Linked DNA regions of Homo sapiens: all the other regions are linked to region 3. The links are contacts of gene promoters, found by promoter capture Hi-C in human tissues and cell types (Jung and others, 2019). All regions are on one chromosome and are shown on one strand. The core of a region is centred on a gene start or on the middle of the fragment in contact, and the rest is flanking DNA. Distances in the headings are between cores, read along the strand shown. Region 1 overlaps VWF (von Willebrand factor). Region 2 overlaps LOC105369625 (a long non-coding RNA gene). Region 3 holds the start of VWF (von Willebrand factor).

What was found. Contacts are between HindIII fragments. The study calls those that stand out against the background at their distance.
Region 1: a fragment that was not itself captured here is called in contact with the fragment with the promoter of VWF in region 3 in 2 of the 25 tissues and cell types used here (H1 embryonic stem cells and spleen).
Region 2: a fragment that was not itself captured here is called in contact with the fragment with the promoter of VWF in region 3 in 1 of the 25 tissues and cell types used here (neural progenitor cells).

Annotation. Positions count from the first base shown.
Region 1 is chr12:5,969,866-5,974,253 of GRCh38, reverse strand. VWF (von Willebrand factor) reads left to right here. Exons shown (of 52, transcript NM_000552.5): 44 at 2,545-2,655. Among named protein-coding and RNA genes, the nearest start is that of ANO2, 27 kb to the right of the region's middle. RefSeq lists an enhancer at 4,074-4,388. The HindIII fragment of the contact is 8,398 bases long and covers 1-4,388 here.
Region 2 is chr12:6,264,672-6,269,685 of GRCh38, reverse strand. The region is part of intron 2 of LOC105369625 (a long non-coding RNA gene); the gene reads left to right. Among named protein-coding and RNA genes, the nearest start is that of PLEKHG6, 44 kb to the left of the region's middle. RefSeq lists an enhancer at 106-851. The HindIII fragment of the contact is 4,977 bases long and covers 1-4,875 here.
Region 3 is chr12:6,123,337-6,125,919 of GRCh38, reverse strand. It overlaps VWF (von Willebrand factor), which reads left to right and starts at 1,250. Exons shown (of 52, transcript NM_000552.5): 1 at 1,250-1,499. The HindIII fragment of the contact is 10,588 bases long and covers 1-2,583 here.

The DNA of each region.
Region 1 (4,388 bases), core at 350-2,849, 150 kb after region 3:
TCGATCTGTACTGTGTTGAGTGAGGTGGGAGCTTAAGTAAGTTACAGATGGTCTCAGACTTCATTCTGCAAAGAGGGTAGTATTGTTAGCATTATTAGCTCTGGTCCGACCTCAGAGGCACTTGGGCTCATATATGCCGGTCCATGTGTTGTCTAGGTTGTGACAGAAAAGAAAGAACAACACTACCATCATCACCCTGAAGCCACAGTCTGCAGAAACACACTTTCCCCAAGCTCCTCCATAGTTCTCTGCTCTTCGTGTCAGAGGAATGGTGGCAGGCAAGCAGGGGCATTGGCGGCTTCTCAGGAATGTTCTAAGCGGGCCTCAGGCGATGGCCTTGCTTCCATGTCCATAGTGAGAGGAGGCCTGCACCTCTGTACAAGCCTTTGAGGGGATTTTCCATGAAGCCTGATGGCCATCTGACTCCTCACCCGTAGGCTCCTGAATGAGGCTCAGTCAAGGTGTAGGAACTGTATTCTGAGAAGCCAAAGGAAGTCCATTAGATATTATTTACTCTGTGATACTCCTCAGGAAGAAGAAGAGGGAGGGCTGTTCTTCTCAGTATCAGACAGGAAACAGGGCCACCCCAGGGAATGGGGTTGGCCAGAACCTCTGTAGCTTATATGAAGCCTGTGGACACTGGAGGGTCCTGACCCGAGCCCAGAGCTCGTCCTGTTAGGCTGGTACAACCCGCAACTCCAGTGTTGCAAGGGCCAGTCTGACCCAGGAAGTCAGCTTTTCAAACTGTGCTCCTCAGATTGCCTCAGAGGGGACAAGTGACCAGAGCTTGGCATCTACCACCTCCATTTCAGTTATAGCAATTGTGCTTAAAGGATTGTGCTGCTAGATACATTCATAATTTATTTTTCAGTGCATATGTTTTCAGGTTGGGTGGCTAGTAGACCTACTTAGTTTCATTCTTATTTGGGAAACCAATGAAAACAGGGTGGAGAAGAGAGCCAGGAGAAGGGCCTGGGATGTGTATTTTGATACAAGATATCAAATGTCGATATAAGCGAGGGAATTTGTTGGAGGAAGGGAAAATAAAGAATTGAAAAATATAGGTTGGACCCTGGTTGTGCAGCCAGAAAACAGGGTTGCTGTGGGGTATGGAGGGGAATCTTAGAAAGATGGAAATTTGGAGGGATGGCTAAAAGTGTCTGGGTTTGAGAAGCTAGTGGGGCTGTGGGAACAGACATCTGGCCTGGGAGCCATCCGTAATATTGACACTGTTTGCCCATGGTGAGAGGCAACAGGAAACAAAAATAATATGCGAATCTCGATCATTCAGCCTTCTAGAGAGGCGTACGAGAATGACAGCAGATCCCTAAAGGTATTAATTACTGTCTTCTGTGTTCTTTGAGTCTTTGTTTCTGACCCCCTGAGACCTTGTTTTTTTTCTTTAATGGCATTTTGAATGTTCTGCTGTATCTTGGAGGGTGTGTACACAGATTGAGGCATCCTAATTTGTTGTCTCCTCCGTAGTACCTAGTACATCATAGGTGCACAGTAAATGACTAGAATCTTGGCTGATAAAAGCCTGGAGACAGCTCACTGCACACTGCTGGGAGGTGGGCGGTGATATCAGTAGGTCTCGTGGAGACTGGGTGGGGTTGAGCCAAGTCTCAGGAGTGTTGAGACCGTCCAGAGAGAGGCACACGTGTTGTGCATCTTCAGATTCGGCCCTGCTGGGGAGAGTGCTTGGGGAGCAGAGCAGGCTGCCATCCACACCCGTCCTGAACAGCTGTGGTTACTCTTTCTCTCTTAAGGACACAGCTCCAAGATGGAACGTAGTCCTGGGTTCTTTTCTCTTGGCTCCTGGGACAAACACACTGTCATTGCTTTGACTATTCTTTCTATAGACTTTTCAGAGGAGGGTTTCAGTCCATGTTCATGATGCTTTAGCCAGATTGGAGGACCTTCTAGAGGCAAGATGGGCTGACAAACTTCCAGGATGCTGGTCTCCCTGGCATGCTTTCTGGGGAAGCTTTGTCTGTTGCTCTCTCATCTCACTTTTCTTTTGTAAAGAACACCGTACCCTATAAATTACTAGGTAAATGTCAAGTAACCTCTTGGGGAAGCCCAAATCTGCACGTTGGTGAGCAGTATTGGGATCGAGTGTTCGTCTTGTATGGGAGGCTAGCCCTGCGAGAGTGGAGACTGGATCCCAGTCATCCTGAGTGTGCCTCCCGGTCAGTGAGGGTCCCTAGAGTTGGCCATGATAAGGGCCAGATTAGTAAGCTGCTGCTAAGGGAACTCTGGGCTGTCTTTAATGCTCCTATGGACTGGATCATGGTCTCTCTCAAAGTGGGATCTTTCAGGGGGCAGAATTATATCTCTGCAGCTGATGTAAGACTTCGTTTAGTGACCTGGTGGTTGCTGCTTCTTGGCATGGCCCTGAGGCTGGTTGACAACAAAGATGAAAATGCCCAGACCAGTGATCACTTGGCACAACCCCAGGGCTCAGTACGCAGGAGGCGTAGGTAAGAGCCCCTGTGTCTTTGCTGCTGGCCTGTCCTTACTCTGTTTTTTCTGCTTTTCCAGGGCTTCACTTACGTTCTGCATGAAGGCGAGTGCTGTGGAAGGTGCCTGCCATCTGCCTGTGAGGTGGTGACTGGCTCACCGCGGGGGGACTCCCAGTCTTCCTGGAAGAGTGTAGGTCCAGGCCCCCGGGACGGGGAGGAGGGCAGATTGGGGCCACTCCAGGGACCAGCGTTGACCTTGGTTTCATCTCATTCCCTGCCCTTTGCTTTCCCCACTGGGCATTTCACCCAGCTGTTGGTGTTATCCAGATGCCAGCTGGGATGACCTGCCCCTTAGGAACCAGTTAAGACGGCCTCAGCCTTCCCATTTTGTAGATTTTGGGAGAAGCCCAGGGCCCTCCCAGGGGGATTCATGCTCTCTCATTCACCTGTGAATCTGAGGTGCTGTGGCTGAGGGGCTGGTTTTGGGATGGCCTCACCACCCCTCCAAAGTGCCACAGGCTGCAAGTACTGTTCTGGACCACATCAACCCAGGCAGGGTCCTCAGACCTTTTCACTGATTTCTACTGAAACCTCCTTGGTGGTTTTAGGGAGGTGGAAACCTTTACAACCCAGAAAAGGAACAGTATTTCCCACAGTCCCTCTGCTATTTCTGCAGGTCTGGCTGGGGCATCTTGCCAGCCCCCCATTGCCCCACTCTTGTCCTCTCCTGGCTGGCTCACCCCCGCCAGTCCCTTCTTCTAACACAGAGCAGTTCAGCTGTCCCCCATGTGCTGCCAGGTTCTCTCTTAGACTCTGATGCTCATCAAGCCATTTTCTTAAACACAGAGGATTCCGTCTTTGGCGGTTTTAGTCCAGATGCTAGGAGAATCACAGTTCTTTCAGTCTGGTCAGAAGGATAAGGTGGGTGGTGCCAAGTCCTGGCAGCCTTGGGAGCTGGTGCTGGGAACAGGTGAACTGCCCATATGGGCCTTGCCTCTGTCTTCCCCAGCAAGACCAATGCGCTTCCCTTCGAGAGGAAGGCCAAAGGTCTGCTATCTTGTCCTGAGCCTTTCCCATCTCCTACCCAGGCCCATTGCCTTTCTCCTCCCCAGTGATAACAGAATGACTCACTGGGCTTTTTCAGGTGAGTTTCCACCTCCCCCTCTAGTCCGAGTTGCCTATGGGTTCTCTTCCCTGTGTTCTCCCCTCCCCACCTTTTAGTGCTTCTGCTCCCATGTGCCCTGGATGGAGGCAGGTTTTGTTTCTTCTCCCCAGGGTCAAGGTCCAGCTCAGATCAGGGGCTGCCCCATCCTGGTGGGGCTGAGAGCTGGTCCCTTTGCGCTCAGTATTCCTGCCCCTTTCCCCATCTCTCATCTCCCTTCAAGGCCTACCCCACCCTGCCCCTCATCAGTGTTTGCAAAGCATAAGGTGACCTGGGCTTCTCTCCTCTACCTCAAGTCTCCATCTTACCTAAAAGACTTGGGTGTTGGCAATGGCTTTGCTGCTGAACCATGTCAGGGGTCAGCGGGGGGTGGTGGCAATGGGTCCTCTTAATGAGCCAGTGGCCAAGGCTCAGTGAGTGAGTAATCAGAGGAGGGAGAAGTCTGGAGGGTGGAATCAGGCCTGCAGTGGGAAGATTTGGCCACAGGGAGTCAGGAGTGGGGGGTGAAGAGAATGGCTGCAAGTGTTTGGCATTTTCTACACCTCATCTGGAAGGAGAAGAAATAAGCAGGCACCAGGAGAAGTAGGTCAGGGCCTGAGATGGCGGCAGAGGGCACCTAGTTACATATCTGGGTGCTGGCCGACACAGAGGGCACTCGGAGTGACATTTTCTGGGGAAGATCCTCCTGGTGACTTTTCTGAACCATGGTCTTGGGCCCTTTCAGCTTCTTGCCCGTGGTGACAACCCTTGGGGTCAGGCTA
Region 2 (5,014 bases), core at 1,138-3,637, 140 kb before region 3:
GGGGGCCGGGCGTGGTGGCTCACGCCTGTAATCCCAGCACTTTGGGAGGCCAAGGCAGGCAGATCACAAGGTCAGGAGATCAAGACCATCCTGGCTAACATGGTGAAACCCCGTCTCTACTAAAAAATACAAAAAAAATTAGCCAGGTGTGGTGGTGGGTGCCTGTAGCCCCAGCTACTCGGGAGGCTGAGGCAGGAGAATGGCGTGAACCCGGGAGGCAGAGCTTGCAGTGAGCAGAGATGATGCCACTTCACTCCAGCCTGGGCGACAGAGTGAGACTCTGTCTCAAAAAAAAAAAAAAAGAAAGAAAATGTAAGGAGAAAGGGAATGGTGGGGCAGCCATTTGTGAGCCTGTACTGTGTGCCCCGTAGTGGGCTGGCTTTGTCATGTATATCTTCGCTTTTCATTCTCCTGACAACCTTGTGAATTAGGTGTTGTCCCTCCCACTTCACAGGTGAAGAAACTGAGTGAGGTTAAGTGCCTGATCTAAGATCATAAAGCTAGCGAGTGGCAGAGGTAGAAGGAAATCCAGGTCTTTCTGATTTTAAAATCCCATGCTTTCTTGGTGGTTTATTTTGCTCTTTTTTTTTTTTTTTTTTTTTTTTGCTTCGTGGGTTGGCCAAAATCTCCAAATATTTTCACTACTGCTGGAGCCCTGGCAAAGGCAGCAAGTGGGGTGGCTGCCAGAGGCTGGGGCCGAGGAGGGAAGGGAGGAGGGGTACATGTGAGGGCCCTTTGTAGGCAGGTATTTATAAAGCTGGGGCTTCTCCCTTGTAACAAATATCAGTGATATTTCTCCTGGCTCTTAGATGGGGGAAGGTATCTTCGCCTCTGTTCGCAAGTACACATCCAGGGAAGGCAGTGCCTGGAGGTCAGGTGAGGCCAGGCTGGCCTGGAGAGGTGAACTAAGGCTGCTGGACTGAAGGCGTCCTGGAGGTTTTTTGTCCACCACATGAATGCCCCGCCTACAGCCCCCTCTGAGAGAAACTGAGCTTCTCCCGGCTCCCTGCTGCGCGTTCCTAGGGTGGGCATTTCCTGTCCTGACCCACATGGCCCTGTCCCCTCTGACCTCAGCTGACTGGCCCAGCATTGGGCACCCTGCCCAAGGGCAGCCCCACCACAGCTGACCAGGGGTCACTGGGGGGCTTTGGTGTCTGAGCGATGTGATGAGCTGGGCCTCCTGGTAGAGGGGGCAGAAGCAGGAAGACACATTGAAAAAGCAGAAAAAGAGGTAGCCCACCAGAGGGATGACCATTTCGGGCCTGGCATGGGTGCCTGAGCGCTGTCTGCTCTCTGAATTAAGAGGCCTGCTGCATGGCTGCTCCTGGGGCCTGGAACGCTTCAGTCCCTTTGTGTTGTCAATTCTGGACAAGAATCCCGTGCTGTTTTAAAAATTTTTTTATTACTTTTAAATTAATTTATTATTATTTTATCTTATTTTTAAAAATATTAACTTCCCATACTACACTGATGTGTATTTTTGAGTTTATACTCTTTTGTTTTTTTGAGACAGGATCTTGCTCTGTTACTCAGGCTGAAGTGCAGTGGTGCCATCTCAGCTCACTGAACTCCTGGGCTCAAGCAGTCCTCCTGCCTTGGCCTCCCCGGTAGCTGGGACCACACCTGTGCTCCACTGCCCTATTTTTATTTATTTATTTATTTGAGATGAAGTTTCGCTCCTGTCACCCAAGCTGGAGTACAATGGCACAATCTCGGCTCACTGTAACCTCTGCCTCCCGGGTTCAAGCAGTTCTCCCTGTCTCAGCCTCCCGAGTAGCTGGGATTACAGGCATCCACCACCACGCCTGGCTAATTTTTGTATTTTTTAGTAGAGATGAGGTTTCACCATGTTGGCCAGGCTGGTCTTGAACTCCTGACCTCAGGTGATCCACCCACCTCGGCCTCCCAAAGTGCTGGGATTATAGGCATGAGCCACGGCTCCTGGTCTCCCCTCTTTTCCAGTCTAGCTTGAGTGGGTGCGATTGTGGTCACCCAAAGAGGCAGACAGGACAGTCTAGGCTGCAGAGCCTGATGTGGTCTGCCCCCCCTCATTCACAAGGATCATGACGCTCGGGCCTGTGGCCTCCCACAACTGGAACCGTGGGGAGGGAAAGGAGGGGCCAGGGGGGAACATGGTTTTCAGTCATGACATGACAACATACCTCAGTCGTGGGTGTGTTTTAAGTAATCTGTTATTCATCATAACCAAAGCACTTGCGTGTATTTTAAAGCACATATTTGCTTCTGTAACCACATCAAATTTCCAAAGGCCCAGAAGGGTACACGCTGAAAAGTCCCCTTCCTTCCCTCTGGGCAGCTCCCTCCCTTGAGGCAGCCATCCTTACCAGAATTTGGGCATCCTTCCAGAAACATTTTGTGCACCTATCAGCAAACACTCTTGTACACATTCCTCCTTTCCCTTATTTAGTACCCAAATGTTAGCATATTATTCCCATTACCCTGTACCTTGTTTTTTTCATTTGTGAATAATTAACTAACTTTCCCCCCAGTGAGAGCAGGTTTGAGATCATCCCCACAACAAAGTCACTTCTGCCACTTGCCTTCCAGGGCACCTTTCCGAGCGGGAGAGGGGGTTAGTGAGCAGGGCCCGGGACCCTTTGGGAGGGTGTGTGTGTATTCATGTGTGTATGTGTGTGCGTGTGTGTGCGTGTGCATGTGAGACCTGCAGGACAGCCTCACTTGGAAGACCTGGTTTTAGGTCTAAGACCCCACGAACAAGCCCAGGGCCTTAATCCCCCTCCGGTTCAGTTTCCCTCCCACAAAGAGGAATGACAAGCCTGTTCCCTGGGGCTGTTGAGGTTGGAATAAGGACGTGTTAAGAAACTGTCTTGTGAATTGTCTAGTCCTAGGCGGTGAGCGGTTATTGTCAGCCAGACAGATTCAAAAGCTTCTCATCCATTTTCCCTTAAGGATGTGTCTGGCCTTCTCTGCTTACTCCCAGCCACCTCCCTATTCCCAGCTGAAGGCATCATCTCCTCTTGGAGCTTCCCTCCCACATGGACCTGCCTGTTTATGGGCATCTGCTCTCCACCTCACCTGCCTTCCGCCACCTGCTCTTGGGCACCTGAAACCACTTCTGCTGGAGTGCAGCGGTGCAAATACAGGTCACTACTGGCCTTTTTTTTTTTTTTTTTTGAGATGGAGTTACGCTGTGTCACCCAGGCTGGAGTGCAGTGGCGTGATCTCCGCTCACTGCAACCTCTGCCTCCCGGGTTCAAGTGATTCTTGTGCTTCAGCCTCCCCAGTAGCTGGGATTGCAGGCATGAGCCACCAAGCCCAGCTTTTTTTGGTATTCTTTTGTAGAGACAAGGTTTCCCTATGTTGCCCAGGCTGGTCTTGAACTCCTGGGCTCAAACGATCCACCCACCTCAGCCTCCTAAAAGTGTTGGGATTATAGGTGTGAGCCACTATGCCTGGCCCCTTCATATGTGCTTGCTTTTTTTTTTTTTTTCAAGACAGTATTTCACTCTTGTTGCCCAGGCTGGAGTGCAATGGCACAGTCTTGTCTTACTGGAACCTCTGCCTCCCAGGTTTAAGCAATTCTCCTGCCTCAGTCTGCTGAGTAGCTGGGATTATAGGCATGCACCACCACGCCTGGCTAATTTTATGTTTTTAGTAGAGATGGGGTTTCACCATGTTGGCCAGGCTGGTTTCAAACTCCTAACCTTAGGTAATCCGCCCACCTTGGCCTCCCAAAGTGCTGAGATTAGAGGCGTGAGCCACCGCACCTAGCCTCTTCGTATATATATGTATATATATATATATATATATATTTTTTTTTTTTTTTTTTTTTGAGACGGAGTCTTGCTCTGTTGCCCAGGCCGGAGGGCAGTGGTGCAATCTTGGCTCACTGCAACCTCCGCCTCCCAGGTTTAAGGAATTCTGTGCTTCAGCCTTCCGAATAGCTGGGATTACAGGCGCATGCCACCACGCCCAGCTAATTTTTTTGTATTTTTAGTAGAGATGAAGTTTCACCATCTTGGCCAGGCTGGTCTTGAACTCCTGACCTCATGATCCACCCGCCTCAGCCTCCCAAAGTGCTGGGATTACAGGCGTGAGCCACCACGCCCGGCCGCTTCTTCATATATTTTAATTGAACATTTAAGGAACCTTTTGTGTCAGTTGTTGTTCTAAGCACTTGGATGTGTTAACTCAATTTTCCCAACTACAACCCAAAGAGGCAGGTACTATTACTATCCATTTTGTTGTGTTTTGTTTTGTCTATTTCTTTTTTGGAGATGGGGTCTCCCTATGTTGTCCAGGCTGGTCTTGAACTCCTGGACTCAAGTCATCCTCCTGCCTCAGTCTCCCAAAGTGCTGGGATTACAGGAATGAGCAGGCTTACTAGCCATTTTACGATGAGGAAACTGAGGCTGGAGAAGTTAAGTGCAGCTGCACTGAGTGCATCAGGCACAGGCAGGCAGTGCTGGTGCTGGTTTCAAAACCAGGCCGCCTGCTCTAGAGCCTGTGTGGATGGCCCTCCCTCACCCCCTGTCTTCCTTCCTTAGGTAACTCCTTTGTAGTATTAATACCTTGGTCTCAGCTTAAATGTCACTTTCTCAGGGAAGTATTTCCTAAGGCCCCTCCTGCAGTGTAAGTGGCCTTCTGAGGGCTCTTGGGTCCTCTTATGTATCTCTTGATCACTTCTTGTTTTGTACTGTAATTGCTTATTTATTTGTCTGTGCTCAGTAGTCCCCTGGGTTTGGGTATGTTTGTTTGCCCTTAGATCTGATCTGCCTTGCATACAGAAAGCATGTCATGAATGTGAGCTGAGTGACCTTTCCATGATGCAGCGCTGCCTGGAGCTGTAGGAAGAAAAGAGTCCCCAGTGGTGGTTTGGCCCAGGAGGGAGGAACGTGAAACTGGAAACAGACCGGGAGACGTAGCCGTGCCGATACATGTGTGTGTTTGGGTGTCTCAAGCGGTGGTAAAGAGAGCATGGGTTTCAAAGTGTGGTGAACCTGGTTCAAATCCCCACTTCAGCACCTGCTGC
Region 3 (2,583 bases), core at 1-2,500:
GGGTTCACGCCATTCTCCTGCCTCAGCCTCCCGAGTAGCTGGGACTACAGGCGCCCGCCACCACGCCTGGCTAATTTTTTGTGTTTTTAGTAGAGACGGGGTTTCACTATGTTAGCCAGGATGGTCTTGATCCCTTGACCTCGTGATCCGCCCACCTCGGCCTCCCAAAGTGCTGGGATTACAGGCGTGAACCACCGTGCCCGGCCCCCCAATGGCCTTTTCTACTGTCTCATGCTGATTCTGCCTCTGGTGCCATTTTTCTTCCTTGGGAGTGTGCATCTTCCTCTCCTGGGGCGGTAAAGGGAGTAGCAGAGTGCGAGGTATGTGGGAAGGGAGGAGGTTGGAACCTAGTGGTTTCTCAAAGTCTTAGGGCAGGAGGTATCATGGAGAAGCAGTGAGGAGGTCTTCCATACCCAGACATGCCTCAGGGTGCTTGTCTCAGTGCCTGGAATCCCAGCACGAGAGTCATCTTCCCCCCACCGCTGCCCATTGCATCAGTTACTTATTTTAGTAGGAATTAGTTTAGCAGATGGTGTTGAGAATTAGGCTTTTGGGAATGGGAGGCTGGGAAGAAGAATTGTGTGTGTGTGTGTGTGTGTGTGTGTGTGTGTGTGTGTGTAAGATCAGGGTACCAGAAGTGGGTGGAAATGTCCTTGAGAATTAGAATTATTAGAATGTAGCAACAGTAGAAGTATTAGACTCAAACCATCACTCCCCACCTTCACCATTTTACAAAGGCTTAGGCTTGTGGCCAAGACCTTCATCTTTAGCCGATCCATTCAACCCTGGCCAGGATCCAAATGGACTGTTTTTGTCAGGGCCAGGACCGGATCCTTCATACCTGGGGTGCATAGGAAGTGTTAGTACTCCCCTTCCTCCAAACACAGCAGCAAAATTGGCTCAGGTTGAGGTGTTTTTCTCAACTTCCCTGGAGTCCAGCCCTGGAAGCTGGATCAGGAAGCTGTGTTGTTCTACTGTGATTCCCCCTGGCCTGTATCAGCTTGCCCTGAAACAACCAGCATTCCTGGTTATCCCACACAGGTGGGGCACTCTAGGAAGACCAGGGATCAAGTGTGGGGGTGTAGGGATAGGGGGTGTTTGGGGAGGGCAAGGCAGTTAATTAAGGCAGCTGCCAGGAGGTCTCCCTCCAAACTCTACAAAGCTTTATCAGCTTGGAGGTACTTCTAATACCATTTCCTTTCATTGTTTCCTTTTGGTAATTAAAAGGAGGCCAATCCCCTGTTGTGGCAGCTCACAGCTATTGTGGTGGGAAAGGGAGGGTGGTTGGTGGATGTCACAGCTTGGGCTTTATCTCCCCCAGCAGTGGGGACTCCACAGCCCCTGGGCTACATAACAGCAAGACAGTCCGGAGCTGTAGCAGACCTGATTGAGCCTTTGCAGCAGCTGAGAGCATGGCCTAGGGTGGGCGGCACCATTGTCCAGCAGCTGAGTTTCCCAGGGACCTTGGAGATAGCCGCAGCCCTCATTTGCAGGGGAAGGTATGGCCTTTGGAAGGAGAGCTGGCTCAGTTGTGGGAGGAAGATGCAGGACTGACTGATCCCTGCTCCTGGGGAGCTGGAGTTCTCTGTCGCTGGACTAGAAGGGCTTTGTTTGGAGGGGCAATTCAATTCAGCCAGGGATGATCCTAATACTCCCTCCTCCACTTGCCTCTGAGGGTCCTGGGGCTGCTTTTCTTCATGCAGTGGGTTTTACTGTTTGATAGTACTTCACTCAAATGAGTTGGAATGAAGTTTGCCCTCACCTCTGAGAACCTGGGAGCAGCTGAATGTACCTGCGTGTTAGGACTGGGAGGGGACACCTGCTTGGAGACCGAGACCTGGCAGTATCTGACATCTCAGTGTTCCTTCCACAGATGTATCACAGATTGGCTTGATTTCACCTTTGGCTGGATGGGACCTTAGGTAGGAAGGGAGTCACCCCCAGTGAATCTCAGGCAGCAGATTCTGCACTTCATTTAACAACTTTTCCCGAGGAGAGGGGCTACAGCAGGGGCTCTAAGTGACTTGGGGTACGCTCTGCCAGCCAGGATGAATTGTCCCTCTCTTGGGGGTCACACAGTGGGGAAGTCTGCCTGCATCCAGGGCCGCTGGACTCCTGTCCATTTTTTCAGATGAACTCAGCAAACATTTGCTGGGCATCTCCTGGGTGCTAAGCATCTTGCCAGGTGCTGGGGTTGGAGGCAAGGGAGACAGCCTTTGCTCTTGTGAAGGCACTTGTGGTACAGAGTCAGGGGCCAACAAGCAAACCGTCAAGTTGGTGGTTCCTGAGCATTCTCTATGTCTGGGCTGCTGTGGTGGGCACACAAGTGTAAGACGGTTCCTACTCGCCAGTTTGGATGCAGAGGCAGGAAGGAATGAGGTGTGTGTTAGCTCCCAGCTGCTTCAGGAGGCAGGGATGTGAGGCCCAGCGGGCCTGGAGGGAAGGCAGCGTTTTCCTCCTGTCTTGGGCCTGGGACTGCTGTCTGTGGAAAGGTGCCCACAGGTCCCAGCTCACAGCGATTGTTACCCTTGGGCCTGGCACTGGCCAGGGGTTTTTTCGGGGGCCAGAAGTCCATGTTCAAAG